3 separate regions of the Homo sapiens genome follow, and regions 1 and 3 are each linked to region 2. The links are contacts of gene promoters, found by promoter capture Hi-C in blood cells and fetal thymus (Javierre and others, 2016). All regions are on one chromosome and are shown on one strand. Each heading gives the region's core, a stretch centred on a gene start or on the middle of the fragment in contact. The rest is flanking DNA. Distances are from core to core; before and after follow the strand shown. Region 1 has its middle 5.7 kb from the start of FAM43A. Region 2 holds the start of PPP1R2 (protein phosphatase 1 regulatory inhibitor subunit 2). Region 3 overlaps LSG1 (large 60S subunit nuclear export GTPase 1).

Region 1 (3,690 bases), core at 738-3,237, 850 kb before region 2:
ATGGGTGTGCATGTTTCAGCGCTTTCATGCTTTCTGTGTGTTTGTTTCTGTTGTAAACTCCAAACAGATGTCTCTAGTTTGGCTACACCCGATCAGCTGGAAGTTGTAATAAGATGCTGCCAAAACTGTGCCTTCTGCAAATTATATTTTCCTTTTGCCCCTTGAGGCCTCTCTTCCTGTGTTGCAGAAATGGATCTCACTCCTGGCCTTCCCTGGTGTCCTGAGGCCACTTTGCTTTGTTTTCATCATAAATATGTTCTGAGCAGCTAGACCCAGAAATCCTAAGGAGTCTGGAATTCACTGGAACCATAGAGGAAAGAGGGGTGAAAGATTTTCTTCCTAATTAACAGGAATGGTTCAGGCATAGAACTATCTTTAAAAAAGAAAAGCAAAGGGGGCGAGTGGAAAATATGTGTGTGTGTGTGTGTGTGTGTGTGTGTGTGTATATATATATATATTTTTTTTTTTTTTTTGAGACGGAGTTTCACTCTTGTCACCCAGGCTGGAGTGCAATGGTGCAATCTCAGCTCACCGCAACCTCCACCTCCCGGGTTCAAGCGATTCTCCTGCCTCAGCCTCCCAAGTAGCTGGGATTACAGGCATGCGCCACCACGCCGGGCTAATTTTGTATTTTTAGTAGAGATGGGGTTTCTCCATGTTGGTCAGGCTGGTTTCAAACTCCCGACCTCAGGTGATCTGCCCACCTTAGCCTACCAAAGTGCTGGCATTACAGGCGTGAGCCACTGTACCCAGCTGAGTGGAAAACATTTAAAAAAAATTCAGTCTTAAGGGCCTTAGGACGTCCAGGCCTTTGAATCTATTATATTTTGGCTTGGTTGTGCGTCCCGATCCCTCTCCCTGAATACCTCAGATACACATCATTGAATGACATTAAAAACCCCAGCTAGAGAGAGGTCAGGAAAGTCCAGTCTCAGCCCAGCCACCCATCCCAGCCCTTCCACACCAGTGTGCTCACCTGATAAGCAGACGGCTGTGTGGGCCATCACTAGCCTGCGTGACTAGATTTCACATTTGAAATTATTCCCATGCATAGCCAAGTTCCTCTGCTGTTTGAAACTGATGAAGAGATGAGACAGAGTGAAGATAATATGGCTAATACTTGGGAGACAGGGCAGGGTCTGTGTGTCTTCATTCTTATCTAGTTTAAGTGTCCTGTGAGAATGCCAATGTTGGCTTTCATCTGTGACTGACAGGCATGTGGTGGTTGGTCCAAAAGTTCAGGCAAATAGTGTTGAAACCAACACCATCAATAAATATAAAGCAGCCATCTCTTTAAAGTCTGATATTTCCTCTCATGTGATTTATAAATAGGAAGGGGGGCTTGAAGGTTGAGGAGGAGGAAGAAGAAAATAAGCAGGCTGGAAAGAGCCAGCTCCCTTCCTCCTCCGTCTGTGCCCTCCCCATCTCTCCTTCCTCCCCTCTGCTTTTTGGCATCGATCCCCACTGCACCTCAGAGCTCTGACTGATGTAATTCTAGAAGAGATGTGAAGGTGACACGTGATTCACCTCTTCTGACTTCTCAGTCTTCCAGGGATGATATCACTAGAGTAAGAAGAGATGTTTTGAATGAAAATAAAAGAAAGACCCTAAAACTACTTTGCTCCTGGAGCTCAGAGGGAAAAGAATGGAGCGACAAAAGCAAAGCTAAGTCATTAGATAAAATACACCTTCCAGAAAACACCTGAAGTCTGGTTTACTCATCAAATTTAGCTTTTCTTTCCTGCAAAGTGAGGCTCATGTTTCTCCATGACTTAACCTGATGGTACTTTAAATGCACTGAGACACTTTCCACGTTCTTTCCCAGCCTAGGTAATCCTCCGTGTTCAACAATGCAGCATCGACTGCATGAAAAACAGGGTGACTCCCGGCGGCACGCGGTCCTCCAGGGGTGGCAGCGTGAGTCTGGGAGGAGGCATTCATCGACTCCTCACAGCACAAACATCCCATGTTCACTTCTACCATTTGTCGCATATGTAAGCAGGAAGGTGGGAGGAATAAAATGGCATAAAATAAACAATAGTATTTCATACCCTCCCAACTATGACAGCTTCAGAGAACCCCCTCCACACACACGTGTGTGGACACACATGGTTTCCCTAAAGAAACACCTCTCACTGCCCCACAGTCAGCAGAACAGATTTTAACCAAATTAGAAAGGCTCTGTTATACTAAGAAAGCACAATTCCCTCCCAGGGGACAGAGCTGTTTTTGAGGGTTCTGCTTGTGAGTAGAGAGAGAACTGGTTGGAAGAATCTACCCCTGGCACCATACTGGAGATTTAAAAATCTCATTGTAGTTGCCAAGGATCACGAGAAACATAGAAATTCTATTAGGAGCAAGTTGCCGTCTTTTTAAACAGGATTTAGTAATTTAATAAGCAGAACTCTTTCCTCTGTGTGGTATGCATCAGTAGTCCCAGCATCTGCTGCTAAGTGATGCATGACAGAGCTAGAAATGTGCACGGACTGCTGGGGTAGGAGCCATGACTGACACATGGGGAACTACTCAGGGCTCCAGGCAGCCAGGAGGGTGCTAGGCCCAGGGCGCTCTGCACTCTCTGCTCCAGGCTTGTTGCACATGTCCACTGTCTTAGTCCGTTTCGTGTTGCTATAAAGAATACCTGAGGCTGGGTAATTTATTTATATTTATTGATTTATTTATTTTGAGACAGAGTTTCACTCTTGTTGCCCAGGCTAGAGTGCAATAGCATGACCTTGGCTCACCACAACCTCCATCTCCCGGGTTCAAGCGATTCTCCTGCCTCAGCCTCCCGAGTAGCTGGGAATATAGGTGCCCTCCACCTCACCCGGCTAATTTTGTGCTTTTTTTTTTTTTTAGTAGAAACAGGGTTTCACCATGTTGGTCAGGCTGGTCTTGAGCTCCTGACCTCAAGTGATCCACCCGCCTTGGCCTCCCGAAGTGCTGGGATTACAGGCATGAGCCACCATGCCTGGCAAGGCTGGGTAATTTATAAAGGAAAGAGGTTTATTTGGCTCAAGGTTCTGCAGGCTGTACAAGAAGTGTGGTGCCAGCTTCTGCTCTGGTGAGGCCTCAGGCTGCTTGCACTCATGGCGGGAGGTGAACTGGAGCAGGAATCAAATGGCAAGAGGAAGGAAGCAAGAGATAGGGAGAAGGGCAGTGCCAGGCTCTTTTGGACAACCTGCTCTCGAGTGAGAGAGAAATCACTCATTGCCTCCGTCTCCCCACAGGGAGAGCATTAACCTATTCATAAGGGATCCACCTCCATGACCCAAATACCTCCCATTAGGCCCCACCTCCAACACTGGGATCAAATTTCAAGAAGAGATTTGGGGGAACAAATATCCAAACTACAGCGGCCACACCTGGATCTGGCTTGACCAGTAGCCGGGGCCGTTTCTGTTCCTTCTGGCTCACCCCTGTTCGTAGGCCCAGTGTCCCCTAGACCAAACCCCCACTGCTTGCTCTAAAGCTCTTGTGACCCAGTTTGAGCGCCTTGACTAACCATCGTCTTGGTGGTTTGAATGGTGAGAAGATGGCCCTGGAACTTGGCACTCCTTCCTTCCTCTTTCTTGAGCTGCTCAGTGGTACCAGAAAAGGACCTTGTTTCTAACCCTCCATGGGGAGTGACATTTCTGAAGGCCTCCTCTTCTCCCCTCCTCTTCATCTCTACCCCTTCCTCCTTCTCCA
Region 2 (3,608 bases), core at 45-2,544:
TATTTTCAGAAAGTAGAGTCCTTCTATTTTTAGTATCTTGCAACGCCCAAGCCCCCGTGCACTTCTAACCCACTACAGATACTGTACTGCAACATTTTCTCCGTGCATAAACGCCTACCTTTCTTTTTTTAAAGGCTAGTATATTGTTCCATTATACAAACGTACCGTAATTAATATTTCACCAGCTCTTACTAATGGACTTCCGGTCGTTTCCAATTATATTATAAATATTACATACAATGCTCAGGTCAACAACTTTTTACATGTGTATCTTTAGCGTATGCAAGAGCAACTAAATTACCACTGGGTCATTTCAAGTTGCTCCTCTTTGAACTGTTTTGAGCTTAGATCTATCTCTGAACAGGAACAAAAACTAGAAAGCACCCAAAACTCTGGTTGCAGATGCAGAAATACAGTGTGGCACAATGCTAATGGGGGAAATGGTCTCTTCTTTGACGGATCGCCTATTAGCTTGAGACTAGATCTTAAAGGGTTCCCAAAGCAAGAAAATACACTGTAATTATCGAAGAATTTTAGATACCTCAGAGATGAGGTTAAGAAATAGTAAAAGCTTAACAGTCGAAGATCTGAAGCTTCAATTTCATTCTTTGATGTTCCCGATTACAGAAAGTTCAAAGATGATGTTTAAAAATATTATATATGCCCAAATGCTTAAAAAAAAAAAAGGAAGCATGATAAACGTCATCGCCCAGCCTTCTTAAAGATCGCTCCCACCCGCGGCTAGCCGGGCAGGAGAAGAGACTCGAGCGGCACCCGAGCCGCATCCACGCCGCCCGCCCGCCCCTGGGGTCTGGGTAGGTAACGGGCCCGGCGGGAAGGAGGGGCTCCCAGGCCGTCCCTCCCAGCGCTCACCTCAGCTCCTCGTCGACATTCCCGCGGGGCTGTTCGGCCGACGCCACCATAGAGGAAGTCGTAGAGGTCTTGTTCTTCAAGATCCCCTTGATGGGCCGGTGCGAGGCCGTCGAGGCCGCCATTGCCGGGCGCTCCGGCTGTCGGCTCAGGGTCGCTGCTTGGCGTGGGGTCCGCGAAGAGAAGGGTCGGCACAGCAGAGACTCGCAGGCAGCCGCAGATCCCGCTCAGGGCTAAAGCGGCCGCAACTGCTGCCTCGGAAACGGCTACCGCAGCGGTTGTCACGACACAACGACCCCGACGCCAGAGCCAACGCCGAACGGGTGGCGGCTACTCGCGCACCCTTAGCCACTGGCACTTGACCCGCGGCTCGCGGAGAGACGCCGGCCTAGAGCTCCAGCGCAGGAGCGACGCGACGCCGAAGCCAAGCGGACCCGCCCTCTCGCGATATCTAGGGAGGAGGCGGGGAGAGGGCGGGGCGAGAACAAAGCCGACCTCCTCGCCCCGCCCCCTCCGTCCCGCCCGGGCTGCTCGCCCCGCCCCCGCGCGGCGCTGGGAGGCGGGAGCTGTCTCTGAGAACCTGCGGGAGAGCGCCCGGGCTTGCTGCTTCCCGGACCCGCGCGTCTCTCGAGCACCCTCGTCCCACCACCTTGTGAGGCCGTAGTGTTATTTTTATTTTTTAGATCAGCAGACTGAGACTCGAGGTGACGTCACTCCGCAGAGAGGTTAGCTGACTTGAAGAAAACGGGTATCTCCTCTTTCCATTTCGCCCGTGTAAACAGCCGAACTGCCTATTATAAAAGCATGGACTGCCAGCATTGGAGTGGTCCTTAGAGGCCTATTATGAAATCATAGAATGTCTGCATTGGAATCGCCTCACCTCCTTTTACCGCTGGAGAAGCCGACGGACAGACGGGCAGCGACCCCCGCCGTCGCACAACCCGTCTAGGCAGAGAGCGCAGGAGACGGGAGGGCGGCAGGGACACATCTCCCAGCCAAGGACCTCCTGGGCCCGCAGAGGCCGCGACAGGTTCCCCCCACAGAGGGAACCAACTCTGCCGCAGGTTGATGTGGACTTCAAGCCTGCAGAACGGAGAGCCCATTTCCATTGCTTAAAGCCACCTCGTGTGTGGTATTTGTTATGGTCCCTGTACACTCCCTTCCCTCCCTCTCCCAAGTCCAGTCCGCAGCTCGCTCATCACCAGGCTCTTTTCCATGACTCTTTCTTGATCAGGCCTTTTTATCGTCCTCACCACAGGTTAGAGCACAGCAGACTGAGCCACCCAGAACTGGCCCCTCCGGTGGACCAGCCCCTGCGGATTCACAGACCACTGGTCCTGGAAGGGACCTTGTCAAGCAGGCCCATAAGGTGGCTATTCAGCCTGTTTCTCCAACAACCCCAGGGGCTAGAAGCCCGCCACACCCCCGTGTAACTCATTTTGTTTTTGGACAGCTCTGACTCTGGGAGTTCTTAGATTGAGCTGACACCTCGCTCCCAGCAATGTCTGTCCACTGCTGTGGGGGGTGAGAGGAAGCGTTTTCCCCTATCTAGCCCCTATAGCAGCAGTTTCACTCCCATGGCTCATCTCTGGACCACAGTCTCATCTTCTTTAACACAGGCTCTGTGCCTTTTGAGGATGACCCTGTTCTGTGTCCTTAGGACTCTGCCCCTCAGGGATGACTGTAGGGTTCTGAAAACGATTGTTTTTATCGTCTGGCCCCGAGCCCCTAGCTCCTAGATGAGTTCCTGGCACAGAACAGGGCCTCAGTATGGGAATGGATGTGGATGGAGATAATGGAGGGGAAGTGAGCTGGAAGGGGAGAAGGGAAACAGGGTTGCTGGTCACAGAGTGGAATGTGTTCCCCAGGGATTTGCCTCAGCCAGGGGCCTGCACAGTCACTGTTGGCACTGTCCCCACCTTTGTTCCCAGTCAAATATCCACTGGTGCCGTCTCTCCCTCCCAGGCCAGGACTGCTCAGTGGATCTAACATTACACCCTGACAGCCCTGTCCAGCCCATGGAGCAGAGAGAGAGGGTTCTCAGCGAGGGGAAGCAGGATGGCCACCTCCCTTCCCTTCCTGAGTTCTTTCCACCCCAGTGTTCAACACCTGTGTTGCGTCTCCTGCCCTGTCAGCAGGAGTCTAGGTCAGTGATGGCAATCCTGTTTTCAAGGGAATACACAAACTTCCCTGTATGTTCCAAATTATTGGGCAGATTTGCTTTGTTCCTGCTTGGGCTGGGAAGCATCACTGAGTTCAGCATCCCTGAACTCAACTGTGACTGGGCCCTTGATTAAGCAACAGCTTGCTTTCAGACCCTCTAATGAAAGGGACTACGATCGTATGACATAAAGTGTTTTATTAGTTAATTAACTAACAAACATTGGAACAGGAGGTGATGAAGAGTTCTCTGAAGAACCTTGGAAACATATTTCCCTCATCAAGAGTTAAACTTTTGTCTCCTGTACTGGTTCTTCCACTCCCAAACCCACAACAAATGAATGCAGATGAAGATGACTTTGGTAGCACTTAAAAAAAAATAGTTTGTAAAATTGTGAGGGCCAGTACTGCTTTTTTTTTTTTTTTTTTTGAGACAAAGTCTTGCTCTGTCGCCCAGGCTGGAATGCAATGGCACAATCTCCACTCACTGCAACCTCTGCCTCCTGGGTTCAAGTGATTCTCCTGCCTCAGCCTCCCGAGTAGCTGGGACTACAGGTGCCTGCCACCACACCCAGCTA
Region 3 (3,364 bases), core at 247-2,746, 890 kb before region 2:
TGCAGTAGAGCTTTCCTTCCAGTCCTGGCTGCAGTCCTCTTCCTTGGGACCGTCTTCTTCTGAGCACGTCTGCCAGTCGTCTTCCTCCTCCTCTGGACAGTCCTCATACTCACTGTCATCTTCATCCGTTGTGGGATTTTCACTAAGTGAAGGAGAATCCCTAGCTGGGAGATGTTCGGATTCACTGTGGGAAATTTCAGCCTGGTCGAAACTGGAATGTCCAAACTTGGTTGTGTTGCTTTGTCTATCATCTCTGTTTGCCTCTTCCTGACAAAATAATAGAAACGCTCAGAAGTATATAACTGCAGTTTCCACTCTAGTAAAAATACTTAATGAGTTGTAAGATGGACAGAGGATGGCTGGGCGTGGTGGCTCAAGCCTGTAATCCCAGCACTTTGGGAGGCCAAGGTGCGCAGATCATTTGAGGTCAGGAGTTTGAGACCACGCTGACCAACATGGTGAAACCCCGCCTCTACTAAAAATACAAAAATTAGCCAGGCGTGGTGGTGCACACCTGTAATCCCAGCTACTTGGGAGGCTGAAGCAGGAGAACTGCTTGAACCTGAGAGGCGGAGGGTGCAGTGAGCCGAGATGGTGCCACTGCACTCCAGTCTGGGCAACAGACAAGGCTCTGTCTCACAAAAAAAAAAAAAAGATGAACAGGGGACAAGCAAAGTTCGACGGAGATGGAAAGGTGAACACAGGGAGGAGACAACGAAAGCCTTTCAGTTCAGTGCCGTGACAGACAACCATCGAGGGTGGCGCCCTCCTGGAGGGGAGAATTGGACCTTCCCTTCACTTTTTACTTTATATGTTTCTGTACTATTTGAACTCTGTACAAAGAACATGTATTACTTTTGTAATTTAAAATAACTCTAGGCCGGGTGCTACGGCTCACGCCTGTAATCCCAGCGCTTGGGTGGCGGAGGTGGGAGGATCGCTCAAGGCCAGGAATTCAAAACCAGTCTGGGCAACACAGCAAGACTGGGTGTCTACAAAAACAAACAGAAAACCACCACCACAACAACAACAACAAAACTCTTCAAAGACAGCAAGGGGAAAAGCTTATGTTAAACTGAACTCTTGACAGTACGTTATTTTGCAATGGGCTGCATGATAAAACAAAGCATTTCTCAGGAACAACAACACATTTAACATACTCCTCTCTGCACAAAGCAAGGGCAGACTTTGCCATTTGCAGTTCATTTTACATTTGTATTTTTAAAGACGGTGGTTGGCATGTTTAAAGAAATCTGCTCTTCTCTCATAATTGCTTTTAGAAGTCAAAGCACCATGGAGCACACACAGATCCCTGTGTGTGAAATGTGGCAGCAAAACTCAACTCCACATGTGGAAATTATTTACTGATGAAAGATTCCCTTTGGAAAGTGAAAGGTACAAATCATTTTCTACTCAAGGGTGTGTTAATTCTTCTGAATCCCTCTTGACAACAAAGCAGAAATAAGGGTGAATTTGTCGGGACTTGAAAGTGATGGAAACCTGGTATCATTTCCAAGTAGCTTTGTTAGAATGATTAACAGTCACAGAAGGGGACACGATGAACTCAAACATGTATCCTAAATCTTAAGAAAGCAGAAATAAAAACAAAATGTCAGGAAAAATAGGTATGATTTAACAATCAAGCCTGGCAACTCAAAAAGAACCCTGGCTTATGAGAGAAATATAGAACTGGAAGCAATTTCTATGGTAAATGAGCAGCGAAGGTAAAGAAGTCAGTGTCGTCACTGTGGGCTCTTTTGAGTCATTTTCAAATATGAAAGTAGCATAAAAACAAGAATGTGAACTGAACATGAATGTGTAGTAGAAAAACTACAGCGGGGAGCAGTTCAGCTTCAGGAAAAGTACTAAAGACAATCAAAGGACTTTGCCGTAATTATGTTAAAAATTAAAAGAAAGAAGGAAAAAGTCAAGCTTTCGGGGAACACAGTGCACTTTCAAGGTGACCAAAGGAAACCAGAGATACTCAACTCAGAATTGGCCTGTGTCTTTTGAAAAATGTCACATTTTTTCAGAACATTCACGTTTTTCAAACAACTGAAGTTGAACAACTATAGAAGATGACCCAAACTTCCAGGCAAGAAAACAGTGAATATCAGGCTACTTCTAATACATTCATGTTTGATACCCAAATTACAGATATTAGTATCAAGTTACAAGTAAGACTTCACAACCTGAGAAATCATGGAAAACAGCAGAGTCCAGAAAACTTGGGAGAAGCAAATGGCGCCTCACTCTTAAAAAGGAGGAAAGAATATCTTCCATAAACTATACACTGTTAATCCAGACACTGACATTAAAACAATTCTACAGGTGACCTGGTGAGCCCTAAAAATAAGACAGTCATCAACAGGAGGCAGTGAGTTCCCTGAAAACTGATCATGCAAAAAATTTCATTTCCCTTTGTTATCTTGGTTAGTAAATCAAGAAGGCCACAGATGCAGAAACTAATCTCTTCCATTTTTGATAGGGTTATTGCATCAGGGCAGAGCAATATAATGATAAGTATCTATTTTAAAACTTCACCAAGACATTGACTTCCAGGAAAGACTGGAAACAATAGAAATAATGGTTTAACAGGGCAAACTATTCTTCTGCCTAAGAATGGTAAGTATCTATACTTACTGCCGAGAAGACTAAATGAGTAAAATATGTAAAGTGTTTAGAATAGTGGTGTCTGGTAAAGAATATGTTTTTATTAACTGATTAATTTTATGGGTTAGTTTTAATTATAGTAATAATTATTATTGGTATATTCTTGTGAATATATCTATATTCACATAAAAACGCTTGGCATAAGTCAATCCTAAGCCAAAAGAACAAAGCTGGAGGCATCACGCTACCTGACTTCAAACTATACTACAAGGCTACAGTAACCAAAACAGCATGGTACTGGTACCAAAACAGAGATATAGACCAATGGAACAGAACAGAGCCCTCAGAAATAATGCCACACATCTACAATTATCTGATCTTTGACAAACCTGACAAAAACAAGCAATGGGGAAAGGATTCCCTATTTAATATATGGTGCTGGGAAAACTGGCTAGCCATATGTAGAAAGCTGAAACTGGATCCCTCCCTTACACCTTACACAAAAATTAATTCACGATGGATTAAAGACTTACATGTTAGACCTAAAACCATAAAAACCCTAGAAGAAAACCTAGGCAATACCATTCAGGACACAGGCATGGGCAAGGACTTCATGTCTAAAACACCAAAAGCAATGGCAACAAAAGCCAAAATTGACAAATGGGATCTAATTAAACTAAAGAGCTTCTGCACAGCAAAAGAAACCACCATCAGAGTGAACAGGCAACCTACAGAATGGGAGAAAATTTTT

Evidence for each region. The method cuts DNA at HindIII sites, captures the fragments that hold promoters and counts their contacts. A CHiCAGO score of 5 or more calls a contact.
Region 1: a contact is called between a fragment that was not itself captured here and the fragment with the promoter of PPP1R2 in region 2, in 3 of 17 cell types (fetal thymus, erythroblasts and megakaryocytes). The highest score is 7.3, in fetal thymus.
Region 3: a contact is called between a fragment that was not itself captured here and the fragment with the promoter of PPP1R2 in region 2, in 1 of 17 cell types (naive B cells). The highest score is 6.0, in naive B cells.

The regions. Positions count from the first base shown.
Region 1 is chr3:194,689,700-194,693,389 of GRCh38, forward strand. No RefSeq gene overlaps it. Among named protein-coding and RNA genes, the nearest start is that of FAM43A, 5.7 kb to the left of the region's middle. The HindIII fragment of the contact is 8,231 bases long and covers 1-3,690 here.
Region 2 is chr3:195,542,031-195,545,638 of GRCh38, forward strand. It overlaps PPP1R2 (protein phosphatase 1 regulatory inhibitor subunit 2), which reads right to left and starts at 1,295. Exons shown (of 6, transcript NM_006241.8): 1 at 874-1,295. The coding sequence starts at 995. RefSeq lists a silencer at 1,267-1,506. The HindIII fragment of the contact is 8,075 bases long and covers 592-3,608 here.
Region 3 is chr3:194,652,876-194,656,239 of GRCh38, forward strand. LSG1 (large 60S subunit nuclear export GTPase 1) reads right to left here. Exons shown (of 14, transcript NM_018385.3): 8 at 1-267. Among named protein-coding and RNA genes, the nearest start is that of LSG1, 18 kb to the right of the region's middle. RefSeq lists an enhancer at 1,828-1,877. The HindIII fragment of the contact is 868 bases long and covers 1,063-1,930 here.